Linked DNA regions of Homo sapiens: regions 1, 2, 4 and 5 are each linked to region 3. The links are contacts of gene promoters, found by promoter capture Hi-C in human tissues and cell types (Jung and others, 2019). All regions are on one chromosome and are shown on one strand. The core of a region is centred on a gene start or on the middle of the fragment in contact, and the rest is flanking DNA. Distances in the headings are between cores, read along the strand shown. Region 1 has its middle 22 kb from the start of LNCARGI. Region 2 overlaps ITGBL1 (integrin subunit beta like 1). Region 3 holds the start of GGACT (gamma-glutamylamine cyclotransferase). Region 4 has its middle 19 kb from the start of LINC01232. Region 5 overlaps UBAC2 (UBA domain containing 2).

The links. Contacts are between HindIII fragments. The study calls those that stand out against the background at their distance.
Region 1: a contact is called between a fragment that was not itself captured here and the fragment with the promoter of GGACT in region 3, in 1 of the 25 tissues and cell types used here (dorsolateral prefrontal cortex).
Region 2: a fragment that was not itself captured here is called in contact with the fragment with the promoter of GGACT in region 3 in 1 of the 25 tissues and cell types used here (dorsolateral prefrontal cortex).
Region 4: a fragment that was not itself captured here is called in contact with the fragment with the promoter of GGACT in region 3 in 1 of the 25 tissues and cell types used here (dorsolateral prefrontal cortex).
Region 5: a fragment that was not itself captured here is called in contact with the fragment with the promoter of GGACT in region 3 in 1 of the 25 tissues and cell types used here (heart right ventricle).

Annotation. Positions count from the first base shown.
Region 1 is chr13:99,453,460-99,456,941 of GRCh38, forward strand. No RefSeq gene overlaps it. Among named protein-coding and RNA genes, the nearest start is that of LNCARGI, 22 kb to the left of the region's middle. RefSeq lists an enhancer at 1-409 and a silencer at 1,156-1,450. The HindIII fragment of the contact is 4,929 bases long and covers 1-3,482 here.
Region 2 is chr13:101,589,251-101,592,870 of GRCh38, forward strand. All of the region lies in intron 6 of ITGBL1 (integrin subunit beta like 1), which reads left to right. Among named protein-coding and RNA genes, the nearest start is that of ITGBL1, 140 kb to the left of the region's middle. The HindIII fragment of the contact is 3,689 bases long and covers 483-3,620 here.
Region 3 is chr13:100,587,147-100,590,673 of GRCh38, forward strand. GGACT (gamma-glutamylamine cyclotransferase) reads right to left here and starts at 1,643. Exons shown (of 3, transcript NM_001195087.2): 1 at 1,595-1,643. RefSeq lists a silencer at 1,276-1,795. The HindIII fragment of the contact is 6,002 bases long and covers 62-3,527 here.
Region 4 is chr13:99,478,334-99,481,468 of GRCh38, forward strand. No RefSeq gene overlaps it. Among named protein-coding and RNA genes, the nearest start is that of LINC01232, 19 kb to the right of the region's middle. The HindIII fragment of the contact is 5,130 bases long and covers 1-3,135 here.
Region 5 is chr13:99,294,446-99,297,534 of GRCh38, forward strand. All of the region lies in intron 4 of UBAC2 (UBA domain containing 2), which reads left to right. It overlaps GPR183 (G protein-coupled receptor 183), which reads right to left. Exons shown (of 2, transcript NM_004951.5): 2 at 94-1,718. The coding sequence starts at 1,700. The coding sequence ends at 615. Among named protein-coding and RNA genes, the nearest start is that of GPR183, 11 kb to the right of the region's middle. The HindIII fragment of the contact is 3,041 bases long and covers 1-2,975 here.

The sequences.
Region 1 (3,482 bases), core at 10-2,509, 1.1 Mb before region 3:
GCTCAGGGAAAACTCTCTGACCAGCAGAGCCACACCACTGGCTCCCAGTTTCAAGCCCTAGCGCTCTGCTCAATAATAAAAAAACACATTCTTTTCACACCTCCAATTCTTGAGACTCACCAGAAGGCCATGCACTCTAATTTGGGACCCCTCACCCTCACCCATTTCTGAGCTCATGAAAATATTAGTCCTAACATGGCATCATCATGTTGACAGTGGATGGGCATCTTGCCTGTGACTGTCCTTGCCAGACAGTGCCTTGCTTACCATGCAGGGTTACTAATTAAGTGCACAAAGAAAGCGATCTGGAATCGTGTGTTTTTTTTTCAATTGATTGAACTACCTGGCTTCTATGGATTAGCAAGTGGATTGGCAAGTGGATTCAGCTCCTCTTGTTGCTCCATTCCAGTCTTTTGGAGGGGATCAGAATATGCCACCTCCAAAATATGCCACTGTGGCATAAGATTATTTCGAGTTGAGGGCAATTAAGAAACAGCAGACACCAAAGGAACTCTCTTTCCTTCTGCTGTTTCCAAGTAGGCCATAAATTTCCCTTTGTAAAGGTGACATAAAATTCCATTTGTAAAGTATCCCCCTCTTCTGATGTCTCTCATACCATGAGGAGACTAACTCCAAATGGTTTTTATCTGCAAAACAAACCTTATTCACCATATGTTTCCTAGTCACCTTTCCACAATTTTCCACCCCTAGAAGCCCAAACCCTGCCTCCCTTTCTCCTTTGTTGAGTCGCCTCTCCACAGTCTATTTCCCTTCGTTAAAATGGTATATAAAGGCTGGGGGCAGTGGCTCACGCCTATAATCCCTGTACTTCGGCAGGCCAAGGCAGGAGGATCGCTTGAGGCCAGGAGTTCAAGACCAGCCTGGGCAACATGGTAAAACCCCATTGCTATAAAAAATACAAGAATTAGCTGGGCATGGTGGCATGTGCTTGTAGTCCCAGCTACTCCGGAGGCTGAGGTGGGAGGATTGCTTGAGCCCCAAGAGGTTAAAGTTGCAGTGAACCAAGATCATGCCACTGCCCTCCAGCCTGATCAACAAAGTGAGACTCTGTCTCAAAAAAAAAAAAAAAAGTTTATGGGAGTCCACTGTTTTGGACTTGCCTCCTACACTAGGTAGCCCCCAGTAGACCAGACCAAACCAGGATAGAGTCACTTGTGCTAAGTTCCACCTAATCAAACCAAACTTTGAGATGGAGCAGAGTTCCAAAAAACATCAGATTGGGGTCAACCTGAGTCAGCAAAATAAGGAAGTCCTCTCTGTTTTATCTGTTTATCTGTTGATGGACTTTTAGTTGTTTTCACTTTGGGGCCGTTATGAATAATGCTGCTAGGAAGAGATGTCTGGAAGTTTTTGTGTGAACATATGTTCTCTTGGGTATCTACCATGCAGTAGAGTGGTGGAGTCACGTGATGACTCTGTGTTAACCTTCTCAGGACCCGCCAGGTTGGTTTCCATACCAGCTGCACCACTTTACAATCCCACTGATGGGCTATGAGGGTTCCTATTTCCCTGCATCTTCACCAACACTTGTTATTATCTGTTTTTTAATGATAGCAGCTGGTTTTGATGTGTCGGGGATGATTGATGAGCGTGGCAGATCTAGGTTGGAGCGGAATGGGCGTCCACGTTAGGCTCAGTATGTATTGCACACCGTGGCAGGGAGTGTCTTCTTTTGGGTTCCCTCAGAATCAGACCCCAAGAAAAGGATTCCAATGCAAGTAGTTTCTTCTGGGGGAAATAAACTGCAAATGGACATGAGGGATCTTTTAAGGTGATGAGAATGTTCTCAAATAGGATTGTGGTGATGGCTGTGCAGCTCTGTAAATGTAGTAAAGATCATTGAATTGTACACTTAAAATGAGTGAATTTTATGGCATGTAAATTATTTTTCAATAAGGCTTTTAACCAATGGCACAGAAAGACTTAAAACAGGCACAGGGATTCAGAAACAGCCTGCCTCTTCATCTATCTCCATTAACAGACATCTTATTGCCCCTAAATCAGAATCCATTCTGCTGCTGGGGCAAAACAACATTTTTTTTTTTTTTTTTTGTAAGAGATGGGGTTGGCCGGGCGCGGTGGCTTACCCTTGTAATCCCAGCACTTTGGGAGGTCGAGGCGGGTGGATCACGAGGTCAGGAGATCGAGACCATCCTGGCTAACATGGTGAAACCCCGTCTCTACTAAAAATACAAAAAAGTTAGCCGGGCGTGGTGGCAGGTGCCTGTAGTCCCAGCTACTCCGGAGACTGAGGCAGGAGAATGTCGTGAACCCGGGAAGCGGAGCTTGCAGTGAGCCGACAGCGCGCCACTGCACTCCAGCGTGGGGGACAGAGAGAGACTCCGTCTCAAAAAAAAAAAAAAAAAGAGAGAGAGAGAGAGATGCGGTCTCATTATGTTGCTCAGGCTGGAATTGAACTCCTCCCATTAGCTGGGATTATAGGCACGCACTACCAAGTGCCTGGCTGGCTGCAAAACAACTTTTGCTGTTGGAAATCCATCAGACATTGATGGCTATAAGCTGGACAAGTGACCTAACTGCCTTGGGCCTCATTTTCTCCACAAGGACAGTAGTGGGTGTTCCTTACAGATCACAGGAGTGCCCAGCACCTCTAAATCTGATAACATTATACGTGTTACATGGTGCCCTCAGGGATGATTTCTTGGTGTTATTGGGGCATAAATACAGTAATGGGATCGTCATCCAAACAAAAGTGGATTGGAAAAGCATCCTAGTCCCAAGACGCTTTATAAAATGAATGTGACTTTTAAAATAAATAATATAACAGTGCTAATAAAGAAGAATGCAGCGCAGGGCATGCATAAGGCCAAGTACATTGGGGAAGAACGTTGCAGTGCGTAGCCTTCTGGGGGTGAGGCTTTTAACAATTTATAGGGTTATAGCAACTCAGCTTCAGGAAACCTCTAACTCAGCTTGATGAAGAATGAGAGGAATTTCCATTAGTTACTCCAGCTCTTACCCAGTACTCCTGATGATAAAAGAAAATGGAAACGACTGAAGCATGCTTTATATAACCAAGATTATTGATTTGATGAAAGCGGGTAATAAACTGCAGTAATGCCAGATGTGATTGGTTGAATTAGGTCATATAAACTCATTAGTTTTAGTCAAACTCTCTTTTAAACACAAGTCCAGAAATTTATCTTGCATTAGAACTTTTAGTAGCCCAGGTTTCTGTCATAATTTTCCCTCAACAGTTTTATAGTCAGTTGTGATTACCATCAGTGTTTTGAGATTGTACTTTATTAGCTGCTAAAAAAATTAAGTCAACCAATGAAAGCTATTTAGAGGTAAGTTTCATAAAATACTGTCTTCTGGGTGTCTTAATTTCAGAGTGAAGCTTATCAAAAGAAAAGAATATTGCACATGACCAACTTTTAAATGATTTTGTTTTCAGAAAGTGACAATTCTACTGGTGATTTTTATTATTTTCTTCATTT
Region 2 (3,620 bases), core at 1,077-3,576, 1.0 Mb after region 3:
TCCATGCACTTTTATGCTTGCTTCTTCTATGATATACAGTAAGATATCTTGTTTAGAAAATTCTACTTTCCCCAAACAATAAAACCAGTTCTACTCTCCCCAGACAATAAAACCATCAAACACTTTCTGTGCCACTATTTTGTCACTTAAACTGGTGACCATACATTCGCTGACTTTCAGGAACTTCATTCTTTATGGATGGCTTATGTATGTCACTCATATTTAAATACCTCTTCTTTCCTTAGCTTGAACTTGTTCAATTAATATCAAATCCTGGTGGTAAAGCATAGAAGACATATCAGTGGATGATTTGAGGAGGAACATTGGCCATCTTGAACTAAACAATGTTCTCCCACTTTGATACTTTCCTGTTTAGGGCTAAGGTCTTTTATCCTTCAGCCAATCACAGCAATGATACAATCTCTTAAATTCATCCCAATGTGCAAGCAATTGGCTGCAGGTGTGTTATTGAGAAGATTATTGAGGAGTCATCACACACATGCCAAAGTAAGGACACATATATATTCTTCCCAGCTTTGCTTATAGTTGGCAATGCCTGGAGGTGAAGCACGCATTTAGAAGCATGATCCTGGAGAATGTTCATGATGTTGCATTAAGTACACAGGAAAAGAGGTGTGGGAGCTTATAGGCTGTATTTTCCCCCTCATGTTTGTAGAAGAGCATCAGAAATAGCAATGGGATATAAAAATAAAGCTGCAATAATAGAATTATGTTAGGGGAAAAAGGTTGAGAGAATTAAAAACTGAGAAAAATAAAATGATAAGAAAACAGAACGTGCCTATGGGAGAATAAAGGTGAAAGACCGCCAAAGATTTCTTCCTGCAGGTCTAGAGCATCTGAACTTAAAAAACGAAAAATTATTAAGGCTTCCACAGCTAATCTGGCTTTTGTTACTAATTGGATAGGATTCCAACTTTAAAAATCTCTTTTGAATAACTTCTGCCTTTAGGATTTGTTTTATTCTGCCACATGTTTTTAAAGATGTCAACATGTGAATGGATTTCAGATAGGAAAAAATGGTTGCTTTTAAACATGGATTCCGACTATGCAACTTAAGAACGTTCTCCCTTCAGTCGTGTGTCTCCCTTTGTACCTGCCTTTATCCCCAAGGTTTCTATTTTATTTTCCCTCCCCAGGGAGGGAATCCTCCTGTGGGGCACGTCACTGCTTGTGAATTCAGGTGGGCCTTAGTGGCAGATGACATTCTCTTGGGCAGTTAGGGACTTCCTGGGTCCCGCATCGGCTAGATGTATTGTTCTAACCTTCACAGCCATTAAACTTTCAAGAGTGGAGAAACTTTTTCTCCCTCTTCAATCTGGTTTTCAATGTTATTGTTAAAGTGTCAACAAGCAATGTTATTGTTCCAGTGTCAACAAGTCTCTCGCAAATGTCAGCATGTTCTGTACTTTGCCCAGTTTCCTCACAACAGATCTGTCGCTGAAATAAAACCACTTGTCTCCAAGAATTTCAAAGCCATTGGCTCCTGTGAAACAACAGAATTGACTGTACTTTAAATGTGAAATATTTATGTGTTAAAATCATTATTTATATAGGCATTTCCAATGTAGATCTGTTTGCAATGTTTGTCCTTAACCTTACATGAGGGCTGGAAATAAAGAAAGATAGGAACTTCTTTGTTTTGTTTTTTTTGAGTTGGAATTTCCCTGTGTCACACAGGCTGGCGTGCAGTGGCACAGTCTCGGCTCACTGCAACCTCCGCCTCCTGGGTTCAAGCAATTCTCCTGCCTAGCCTCCCAAGTAGCTGAAACTACAGGCATTTGCCACCATGCCCAGCTAATTTTTGTATTTTTAGTAGAGATGGGGTTTCACCATGTTGGCCAGGCTGGTCTTGAACTCCTGAACTCAGGTTATCTACCTGCCTTGGCCTTCCAAAGTGCTGGGATTATGGGCGTGAGTCACCACGTCCGATGGGAACTTCTTAAACTGAGATGAATGAATGGCAAAAGCCATAGAACCCAACAACCTATGAAATATAATTGTTAATAAGCATAAACCGTTACAAAAATTCCCATACTGTAAAGTCTAATCATATTCATATGTCATGTATGTTTATTAATAATAACAATTTTCTTTTCCTTTCAACTGAGGTCTAGAACAGATAATTATGGCAACAATTTGTCAAATAGACTCTGTTACATAGCAGATGATCAACAAATGAGCATCTGAATTGAATTGAATTTGGGATTAAATGAGAGATTTAAATTCAGTGATCCCTAATGTCTCATTCCACTTTGATTTATGATTTTGTGATTTTTTTTTTACTAAAAATTAGTTAAATGGTGAAAAGCTTCTACATATGTGTATTGTCCAGTTTCTTCAAATTCAGAAGATGGAACCGCAAACCTCAAGGAATATTAGTAAAATGGTCTAGTCTTTACTGGAGGCCAATTTTCATATTGGATGATATACATTAATATCAGATGCTAAAGACAGCATGCATTTTCATCCATTAGCATTTCTATGTACTTTTAAAAAGTGTAATTCCACTTTTAAAATTCTTCATGCATTTTTGCAGCAATTATAGAAATCTACTTTGTTCTATATCTGCGGTGATGAGTAGCTTCATGTTTATTAGGAATTATGGAAAGCTCAGTTGAAACTGTGCTTTCCTCTACTTGCTTATAATGTGGGAACTGATGAATACAAAAACCAGTAGCTCCTTTTTATGTAGCTTTTAAACTATTTAATGTACTTCCGAAGAAATGTGGATTGATAATATATTTTCTTCCTTTTTAAAATGAAGAAACTGAAACTCAGATGTGGTCATTTGACCAGCCCCACTCTGTAGGAAGCAGAATCAGGATTTGAACCCATTATTTTATTGATAATGTAGGTCGATTTTTGCTAAACCACACCGTTTCTCACAATTCTTTGCAAACTGTATATTCATGTGTTGAAAAATTTAATATCTTTTCTGACTTCTTTGGAATACACTAGGCTAATCTTCAAGGATTGTAAACTCCATGTAGGTTACTGGTTTTACTCTAAGGGTCTCCAGGCTAAACATGTAGTATTTGCTTAAAAAGTGCATGAAAATAAAGTGTGGAGACTCCATAAGATAACATTCTGCTTCGGTGAAGTAACCAAAACAGAAATTAAGAAAACAATTTTATCTGCGGTCGTGTCAAAAATAATATACTTAGGAATAAAATTAACCAAGGATGTGAAAGATTATTGCACCAAAAACTGTAAAACATTGATGAGAGAAATTGAAGACACAAATAAATGGAAAGATATCTCATGATCATGGATCAGAAAAATGAATATTGTCAAAATATTCACACTACCTAAGGTGATCTACAGATTCGTTGCAATTCCTATCAAAAGTCCCATGACTGACACCCAACTGATTTTCAACAAAAGTGCTAAGAACACACATTGGAAAAAAGATAATATTTTCAATAAATGGTGCTGGAGAAATTGGATATCCATATGCAGAAGAATGAGATTAAATCACTACTTCTCATGATATACAAAAATCAACTGAAAATGCATTAAAGTCTTAAATGTAAAACCCAAAGCTACAAAATTACTAGAAGAAAACATAGGATAGTACTTTACTGTGGGCAAGAATTTTT
Region 3 (3,527 bases), core at 393-2,892:
AATCACTGGTAAGGGCCCTGGCTCGAGGTGGATACAAAGCCTCCCAATGACTTCACTTCAAGAATGGACACAGATTGGAAATCTTACTAGTAAAGAGAGAAATGAACAGATCATTTTAAAATCCCTCTTCTATTCTGCTTACTGCTACCTACTATCCAGATCACCACAAACAACCACCCTCTCCTAACTAGTAGTAGTTAGGGCCTGGTTAGTAAAATCAACTAGCCCAAAGTATTTCCGTACAAAAATCCACCAATTAGAAATTAATTTAACTTTGCAAACTCAGCTTTTACAATACGAATCTCTGCTAGAACACAGTGGTCTGCTTATTCAGGGAAGTCTGGCTTCTTCTGGGAATAGTTTCAGGAAAACAAGGCATTTTGGGAAAATACGGGCAAACTGCAGGTGCTCTTCATCTGAGCATTTCAATAAATTGAATGAGGCCAGGGAAAAGTCTTCACTTACAGGTAAATGTACATAAGGACACCTACGTGTGTGTAAGACCTACACTTTAAATAGGTCACCTTTAGTTTTTCATTAATCATTTCTCCTGGGACATTTAGCAAAACGAATAACTTGCTTTTAAAAAAGGCCACAAATCCCGGGTGCAGTGGCTCATGCCTGTAATCCCAACATTTTGGGAGGCCAAGGCGGGCGGATCACGGGGTCAGGAGTTCGAGACCAGCCTGGCCAACATGGTGAAACCCTGTCTCTACTAAAAACACAAAAATAAGCTGGGCGTGATAGCAGGCGCCTGTAATCCCAGCTACCCGGGAGACTGAGGCAGGAGAATCGCTTGAACCCGGAAGGCAGAGGTTGCAGTGAGCCGAGATCGCGCCACTGCACTCCAGCCTGGGCAACAGGGCAAGACTTCATCCCAAACAATAAAAAGGGCCAGAAATCGACTGCATTTTCTTATCACTTAAATATTAAATCAACTAAGCGTGGAGTTAAGAAGCTGTGTTCAAAAAACACTTAAGTCTGCTTTTGAGCTTGTGGCGTTGTCCTTGGCCCACAGAGTAAAACAGCAATGATAACCATAATTAATAATCAAGGCAGTAAATTTCTTCAAAATTTCAGAAGTTTCACTAATGGCTCCAAAGAAACCTTAGATCAGAAATTCACAAGTGCCAGGAGACGTTTTTAGATTTCTTTTGCAGCTTCTAGTCTCCTTACAAACAGGAAATCTTTAAAATGAAAAACAATTTCTGAGAAGTGTTAGCCCGGTTCAGCTGAGGTCCTCTGAAAGCCAGCGTGTGGGCTGTCACGCTTCCTTTACAGGGAAGCAGCGCCCGTGCGTGAGGCGGTTCCTGGCTTTTACCGCCCTCTGCCCGTTCTGGCAATCGCGCCCGTGGCCCCCGCGCGGGGCAATGGAGGACGCGTTTCGGGGTCCACCGTCCCCTCCCTCCGGCTGGCCTCGCCGGCCGGCGGCGCCCCAGGCCTCCTCCCTCACCCGCGGGGACGCCGAGTGCTGCGGCCTCGACCCGGACGCCGCGCAGGGAGCGACGCCCCAGGTTCCCGCGGGCGCCAGGACACCCCGCCTGGGGGGCGGAGCAGGCGCAGCCCCGACCCCCGCCCGGGCTCAGCGCCTCACCTGCCGGCAGCCGGGGCTGTCGGGGAGGGCAGGGCCAGGGCGGAAATGCAGGGCCGGGCCCGCGCCTCTGCTCCCAGGCCGCCCCCGGCGGCGCCCCCTGCAGGCGGAACGCGAGGCCCGCCAGCCCCTGCGGCGCCCTCGCACACACGTGGCCGCTCGCACAACTGGCCGCCTAACAGCCAGACCCACCCACGCCGATGCCCGCCGGAGACGCCCCGCCGCAGACACAGCGCAACCAGCTTCACACACCTGGGGACGCCCCACAGAAGTCACATCCACCCTAACACACCTGGGCACTCAGGCTCAAGCCCCGACTGCATGGTGGACCCTGACACACCTGGGCCACACCCCACAAAACAGACTCACAGACGACTCCACAAGCTTGGGGACACGCCACATCAAATGGACACACATGCACACACAAATGAACCCAAGCGCAGACACACTTGGGGATGCCAACCATGTGTGTATCTATCACATCACACACCACCAAGGCCCCCCAGCTGGGCATGCACACAGCCCTGATACCGAGTCCAGACCGCCATCTAGTCACACTGCCCACTTACTTACCAATACTCTTAAAATGAAACTGTGGCCGAAGGAGACAATGGAAGGATGACATCACCTCTTCCCTAGCTCCAGGACTAATTTAAGCCCCAGAAATTATAGGACTGAGAACCAAAATCGAAAGAGAACATTTTCCCTAGAGACAATGGGTTAAAGCAATGCCACTTGGGGGCCAGGTGGTAGGAATGGTACAGCTATGGAGAGAGTGACACTTCTGTCTCTCCGAAAGACACAAATCTGTGTTTATCAGATTAGCAATAATCCCCCTTAATCATTTCCTGCCCTTTCTACTTTCTCATGGATGTGGACTGATTGAAACCTTTATATAAACTGGTTTTTATCCAAACGTTTCCAACAATGCAGATGTAATTGTATTTTGAACAGATGTACAATTCCAAAAGAAATCTAAACCATCAGGTACATAAGTCGTTGGTTTTCACAGTTTTTTCTTGTCTTGGACACTTCATAATTAAATTGAAATGTATTAAAAAACCTTGTCTAGCTCATATTAATATTTTTTTTTTTTTTTTTTTTTTTTTTGAGACGGAGTCTCGCTCTGTCGCCTAGGCTGGAGTGCAGTGGCGGGATCTGGTTCACTGCAAGCTCCGCCTCCCGGGTTCACGCCATTCTCCTGCCTCAGCCTCCCAAGTAGCTGGGACTACAGGCGCCCGCCACTACGCCCGGCTAATTTTTTGTATGTTTAGTAGAGACGGGGTTTCACCATTTTAGCCAGGATGGTCTCGATCTCCTGACCTCGTGATCCGCCTGCCTCGGCCTCCCAAAGTGCTGGGATTACAGGCGTGAGCCACCGCGCCCGGCCTCATATTAATATTTTTAAAGACAGCAGTAATTCTTAACTTTTTGAAGCGAAAGAATGATTCCACTTTCATCTCTTTTTTGAGGGGGGAAAATCATGTCAGCAAAGGAAAGTGAGACAAATAGATAAATAATTCTTCTGATAAAGGAAAATTAAAGATGACGCAGACTAGACGAATTTTTTGTTTGTTTTGAGATGGGTTCTCACTCTGTCACCTAGGTTGGAGTACAGTAGCATGTTATTGGCTCATTGCAACCCCTGTTTCCCAGGCTCGAGTGATCCTCCCACCTCAGCCTTCTGAGTAGCTGGGACCTCAGGCACCCACCATCACGCCCGGCTAGTTTCTTGTATTTTTTGGTAGAGACAGGATTTCACCATGTTGCCCAGGGTGGTCTTGAACTCCTGAGCTCAGGCGATCCACCCGCCTTGGCCTCCCAAAGCGATGGGATTACAGGTATGAGCCACAGTGCCTAGCCAAGACAAGTGTTAAGTTGCATCCCAGATAAGGCTGGGGAAGCCCAATCTAACATAGAATAGGCTCTGTGGGAT
Region 4 (3,135 bases), core at 176-2,675, 1.1 Mb before region 3:
GCTTTAAATGATGACTATCACAGTTTTCATAAATAATCTAGGTAAACAATTAAAATGAAATAATTAGGTAAATGTAATAGGATAAATACTTGTAGACAAACTCATAATTTAGAATCTAAAGTTATATTAAACTAAATGATAAATATTTCATTATTTGGGTATTTTCCAATAAAAATATATTTATAGGAAAACATTATTTCTAAAAAAAAAAAAAAAAATCTGTCCTTTTAAAAAAGGTGAACTTAGCTGGGCACGGTGGGTCACGCCTGTAATCCCAGTACTTTGGGAGGCCGAGGCGGGTGGATCATGAGGTCAGGAGAGCGAGACCATCCTGGCTAACACGGTGAAACCCTGTCTCTACCAAAAATACAAAAAATTAGCCGAGCATGGTGGCAGGCACCTGTAGTCCCAGCTACTCGGGAGGCTGAGGCAGGAGAGTGGCATGAACCCAGGAGGCGGAGCTCACAGTGAGCTGAGATTACGCCACTGCACTCTAGCCTGGGGGACAGAGCGAGACTCCATCTCAAAAAAAAAAAAAAAATGGTGAACAGTGGCCGGGCGCAGTGGCTCATGCCTATAATCCCAGCACTTTGGGAGGCCGAGGTGGGCAGATCAGCTGAGGTCAGGAGTTCAAGACCTGCCTGGCCAACATGGCAAAACCTTGTCTCTACCAAAAATACAAAAAATTGGCTGGGCATGGTGGCGGGTGCCTGTAATCCCAGCTACTCGGGAGGCTGAGGCAGGAGAATCACTTGAACCTGGGAGGTGGAGGTTTCAGTGAGGAGAGATTGTGCCATTACACTCCAGCCTGGGTGACAAGAGCGAAACTCTGTCTCAAAAAAAAAAACATTTGAACAATTTTTTGTCTAATTCAAAGCTTATTTAAAGGTCATGTATAAAACAAGGTAAAAGGAACCAGGAAATAAGAGAGATGTAAAGAAAGTTATAAAAATAATGAGGGTTTTTTTTGGTAAGAAACTTAAAGAGAAATAATTTCATATGAGAAAGAATCTTGTATGATAAATTTAGTCCTAGGGTAAAATGACTGGTTGTTTAAGAAGGAGGGATGTTCAGGACAAACCAGAAAGTCCAAGCATATGATGAACCATCTGTGTAAGTCACAATAAGAGGATTTATTTTTTTAAAAACCAAAAACTTTTATATGGTCAAGTTGTCGCATTATTATTAAGTTTTGGTTTGCTTAGGAAAAAACTGAGATTTAAAATTTTTTTAAATTCAGGTTATTACATCCGTGTATCTCTCTGTATGCACTTTTAAAGTACTTGTGACATTGAGTTACAGGGCTTTGACTCCTGGGTCTAAAAAGGACATCAAGTACTGCTAAATTTTAAATGCTGACAGTAATTGAAGACCCATCTTCAGGTCCAGTAGAAGATGCCAATCAAAATAAACTGCATACAGGGCCAAAACTTAAAGCTATTCAACTCCTCAAGGCCCAGGGACTATTGCGGAAGAGGTGGACGAGTGAGATTGTATGGGCCAATTTTGAGAGATAAAATATGTTCAATTTCTCTATAAATTAATCATTAATGTTAAAGGCACACTGATGCAAGACCAGCATATGGGCCCCTGTGTCAGATTAACAAGGTTTTTATGAAGCATTCACCAACTCCTTAATACAGGCCACCACACAGGCCAGTTTCTATTTTTTACTAATAAAAACATTATACTGATAAGCATACTTGGAGCTAAATTTTTTCATATATTCTAAATGTTTCCCTAGGACTGATTCTAAGAAGTATAATTGTTCTTTCAAATTGCATATTCTTAAGGCTTTTAAAAAATACGTAATGCCAAACTGTCCTACAGAAAGGCTATTAGACACTTGTCACAGGCCAGGTGTTGTGGCTCACGCCTGTAATTCTAGCACTTCAGGAGGTGGAGGCAGGTGGATCGCTTGAACTCAGTAGTTCAAGACCAGCTGGCCAACATGGTGAAACTCCATCTCTACAAAAAATACAAAAAAGTTAGTTGAGCATGGTGGGATACACCTGTAGTCCCACCTACTTGAGGGGCTGAGGCAGGAGGATCGCTTGAACCTGGGAGGTCAAGGTTCTCAGTGAGCTGAGATCGCATCACTGCACTCCAGCCTGGGTGACCAAGTGAGAGTCTATCTCAAAACAAACACAACAAACAAACAAACAAAAAACCACTCATCATCAGGGTGTGAAATAAGTTGGGTATTATCACTGCTTCCTTAGTAGCTTTAAAAAAAGTATTTTTTTCGTTTTCTTAAAAAATATGCAATTACGTTAATACAATAAGGCTGAATATTTATTTAAATGCTTTTTGCCATTTATATGTCTTTTTTTGTGTGTAAATTATCTCTTCATGTCCTTTGTGCATTTTTATATAGGGACAGTTCATCTGTTTCTTACTGTTGTGTAATAACTTAATTTTATTGCAAGTGTTTTCCTCCCAGAGTTTTATTTCAATGCATCTAAATTGTGTGGGCCCCTTTTGAGTCTTTGCTATAAACCTTATAAACCACGGATCCAGATTTAGAAAATAAAAATAAACAACAAATAAATTGTTTATTAATTATGCCCCAAATAAACATGGGACATACCTATACTAAAAATTTATTTGCTATTTATATGAAATTTATTCTTTTTGTTTGTTTGTTTGTTTTTGAGATGAAGTCTCACTCTGTCACCTAGGCTGGAGTGCAACAGTGCAATCTCGGCTCACTGCAACCTCTGCCTCCCAGGTTCAAGTGATTCTCCTGCCTCAGCCTCCCAAGTAACTTGGATTACAGGCACATGCCACCACACCCAGCTAATTTTTGTATTTTTAGTACAGATGGGGTTTCACCATGTTGGCCAGGCTTGTCTCAAAACTCCTGACCTCAGGTGATCTGCCTGCCTCAGCCTCCCAAATTGCTGAGATTACAGGCGTGAGCCACCACGCCTGGACTTTTCTGAAATTTAAATGTAACTGATAATACTGTATTCTAACAGCCCTAGCTAGAGGCCACAACTATAGTGGAGTGTGGCTGAATTGGGTATTAGGTTTTAAAATCAGCACATTTGGCAAAAATACTGAAGGCCAAAACTGCCCTTAAACGTTCTTTAAGTAGCTTTCAACATTCAGCTTGGAGTTTCGCCTTCCATT
Region 5 (3,089 bases), core at 205-2,704, 1.3 Mb before region 3:
ATAATGTTGCAGTTCAAAGTCTATTGCCAATTATCTTTTCCCTGACACTCCCACTGATAGTTGACAGGGAGCATTGAGGGACAGACTCATAACTTTGCAGCATCCTGCTCTTTATTCCAAAAGAGTTCCTTAACAAAGTTTTATGACCCAGAACGAAACAAAACAAAACATTGGTGTTATTGAGGGAATTAAATCTAACATTGAGAGAAATTTGGATTTAAGAAATATGTTATTTAAAAAGTATGTTACAGTATTAACATCTGGCAATATATAATCTATTCAGTCCTTTCTAGCCATTTGTTGGCAAGAAATAATAATTAAATTTTTTATTAAAACAAAACTTTTTACATTGGGAGTTATTAAGAGCGCCTCCTTTTGGTGTATTCGTTTACAAATAAAAATGAAATATTTATTTGCATTTTTATTGTGCTTTATGTTGTTTGCTTTATGTTGTTCTCTTGGGCTTACTTCCGAGTTGGAGATGGGAAAGTGCCCAATGAAAGAAATATAAAAGAATACTAATTGGAAGCTGAACAATTATTTTGCTTTATAAGGGAAGTCCTGCAAAGTTTGTCATACAGTTTACGTCACTATAAACCAAAATACAATCCATTTCACTTTCCATTTGAAGACTTGGAATGTATCATCATCTGCGTTTCTGTCATTTCACGTGAATTTTCTTCAGGGGCTGACTTCACAGCACTAGAAATCGATACACTGACTTGCCGTTTCAGCATCCTCATAACCTTTCTCTTATACCCTTTACATGCAAAGAAGTAGATAAAAGGGTCCATGCAGCAATTGAAGTTCATCAGGCATACTGTAAAGTGCAGAGAAATCTGGAACGAATGTCTTTGGCTACATTCCAGGAAATTAGAGAAACGAAGCTTCTTAATCATATGTTGAATAATTGCAACATGGTAAGGTGTGAAACAGAGAACAAACACAACAATAATAAGAATAATTGTGTTGAGAGCCTTTTTGTTTACACCAGATTTCTCAGTGAGTGGGTTTTGTTTGGCAGTTCTGAAGAGTTTGCAGCAGATCTGAGAATAGCAGATGAGAATGATTATAAGTGGAAGTACATATCCTATGAAACATGCCCCAAGCAGAATCCAGGGAAGAGATTTAGTTTCTTCAAAGTTTGGATACTCCATGCATGTAATCCTTTCAGCCTCCTGCTTTGACATAGGGTTGATGAGGAGTGGGAGTGTCTGAGCAAATACTAGAATCCAGACAAATATGCACACGCCTTTTGCATGTTCAATCCTTTTTATCTTGTTGTAGCGTAGAGGGTGCACCACAGCAATGAAGCGGTCAATACTCAGGCAGGTCATAAAGTTCACACCTGCATATGTGTTGATGTAAAACACTAGCGCAGTTATCCTACACAAGGCATCTCCGATTCTCCAGTCAAAGCCCATTGCATAGTAGGCTATTCGTGTAGGCAAAGCGGTGGTAAAAAGTATATCAGAAATCACCAAATTTGTTGAATAGAGGGTGGTAGAGTTGATTTTTTTCCTGTTTTGAACAATGACGACCAAGGCTAGTAAGTTTCCCACGAGCCCAATGATGAAGACGAGGCTGTAATGCAGAGGCATTACTATCCTGGCCGTGCTGTGATGTGCATAGAGGTCACAGTCATTTCCCTGAGGAGTTGCAGAGGGCGGAGTAAAATTGTTTGCCATTTGTATATCCATTGGTGGTGGTCCAGGTGTCTAGAAAAAAACCAAGAAGGATCATATAAGTAAAAGCATATGTATTCAGTTTGATTACTCATTAGTTTTAAAAAAGTTTAAATAATGTATCAAAGCAATCCAAACTGTCTTTTATATATCTAAGTTTTAAAATTTCATGACATGCAATTTTTAACAGTTTATAATTATAATATGGTTACATATATGATAACAGGAAGAACAGAATAAAATTTGTGTTTTTACTCTCACAATTTGCTGACTTTGGCAAAGCTCTGGCAAAGGAAACAGAACCATTTAAATAGGGCAAACGCACTTTTGTGACAGAAGGGAATGCACTAAATTTTTAGGCAGAAATTCCCCTTCCCTTTTTTGAATCATTGTCTGGTTAAGTAAAGCACCCCACATTTCAGACAGGCATTAAGCTTTGCTTTTAAATTTAATTTCAGTTGGATTTTTTTTTAACCAAATGCATATCACTGCCAGGAAATGAAATCAGTCACCACATTTATGTAGTGAAATATGAACTTACCACAGTGATCTGATTTGTGTTAACCTAAAAGTCTGAGAAATAGGCTTAGTCCATGTTAGGAACTGAAAGTTAGATTTTCTTTTTAAAAAGAAGAAGACGACGACCGCAACAACCATGACTAAAATGACAAAAAAAGAAGAAAGATAAAGAAAATGAGAGAGAAAAAGACTTAAGCTACTTCAAGGGGAAATTATTAAATTTTAAAACTCTATCAATCTGCAAGTACTCCATGGATCCATGCAATCTATACTTCTACCTTTGCACATAGTAGCAAGCATCACACTTTATATTTTGTTTCTTGCTTTATTCACCAAACATCTTCATGTCAGTGCAATGTATATATTTGTCGTGTATATTTTATATAAACATTTGATAGATATTCTACAGTCTTCCAATGTGTCAATGCATAATTTGCTTAGCTACTCCCTTGATGAACTTTTGGATTCTTTCCAATTCTTTTCTTGTTATAAATAATGTTAAAGCAGAAATTTTAAGTACTAAATTGAAAAATGGAAAACTCCTACAATAAAGTTCTGTAGATGAGGGTAAACTTTGATTAAAGCAGGAAGAACAGAGCAATAAATCCTGTGTGATTATTTTTAAAAGAAAAATAATTCCTCTGATAGAACTGTGTGTACATAAATCTCACCTGGAAGTCACCAAAATTAAGGGGCACTTTCAGCATATCTAGTGATGTTGCTACTGTATATTTAAAGAACTATACAGTATTTCCTTAAAGACTATCTCTACCCTGATCAAAAGCACTGTCTGCAAATCTGCTTCTCTCCCTGCTGTATTAAATGACTTGGATCTCAGCTAACTTCATTCTAACAACCTTAAAACTGAGATGTTCATAGACACTG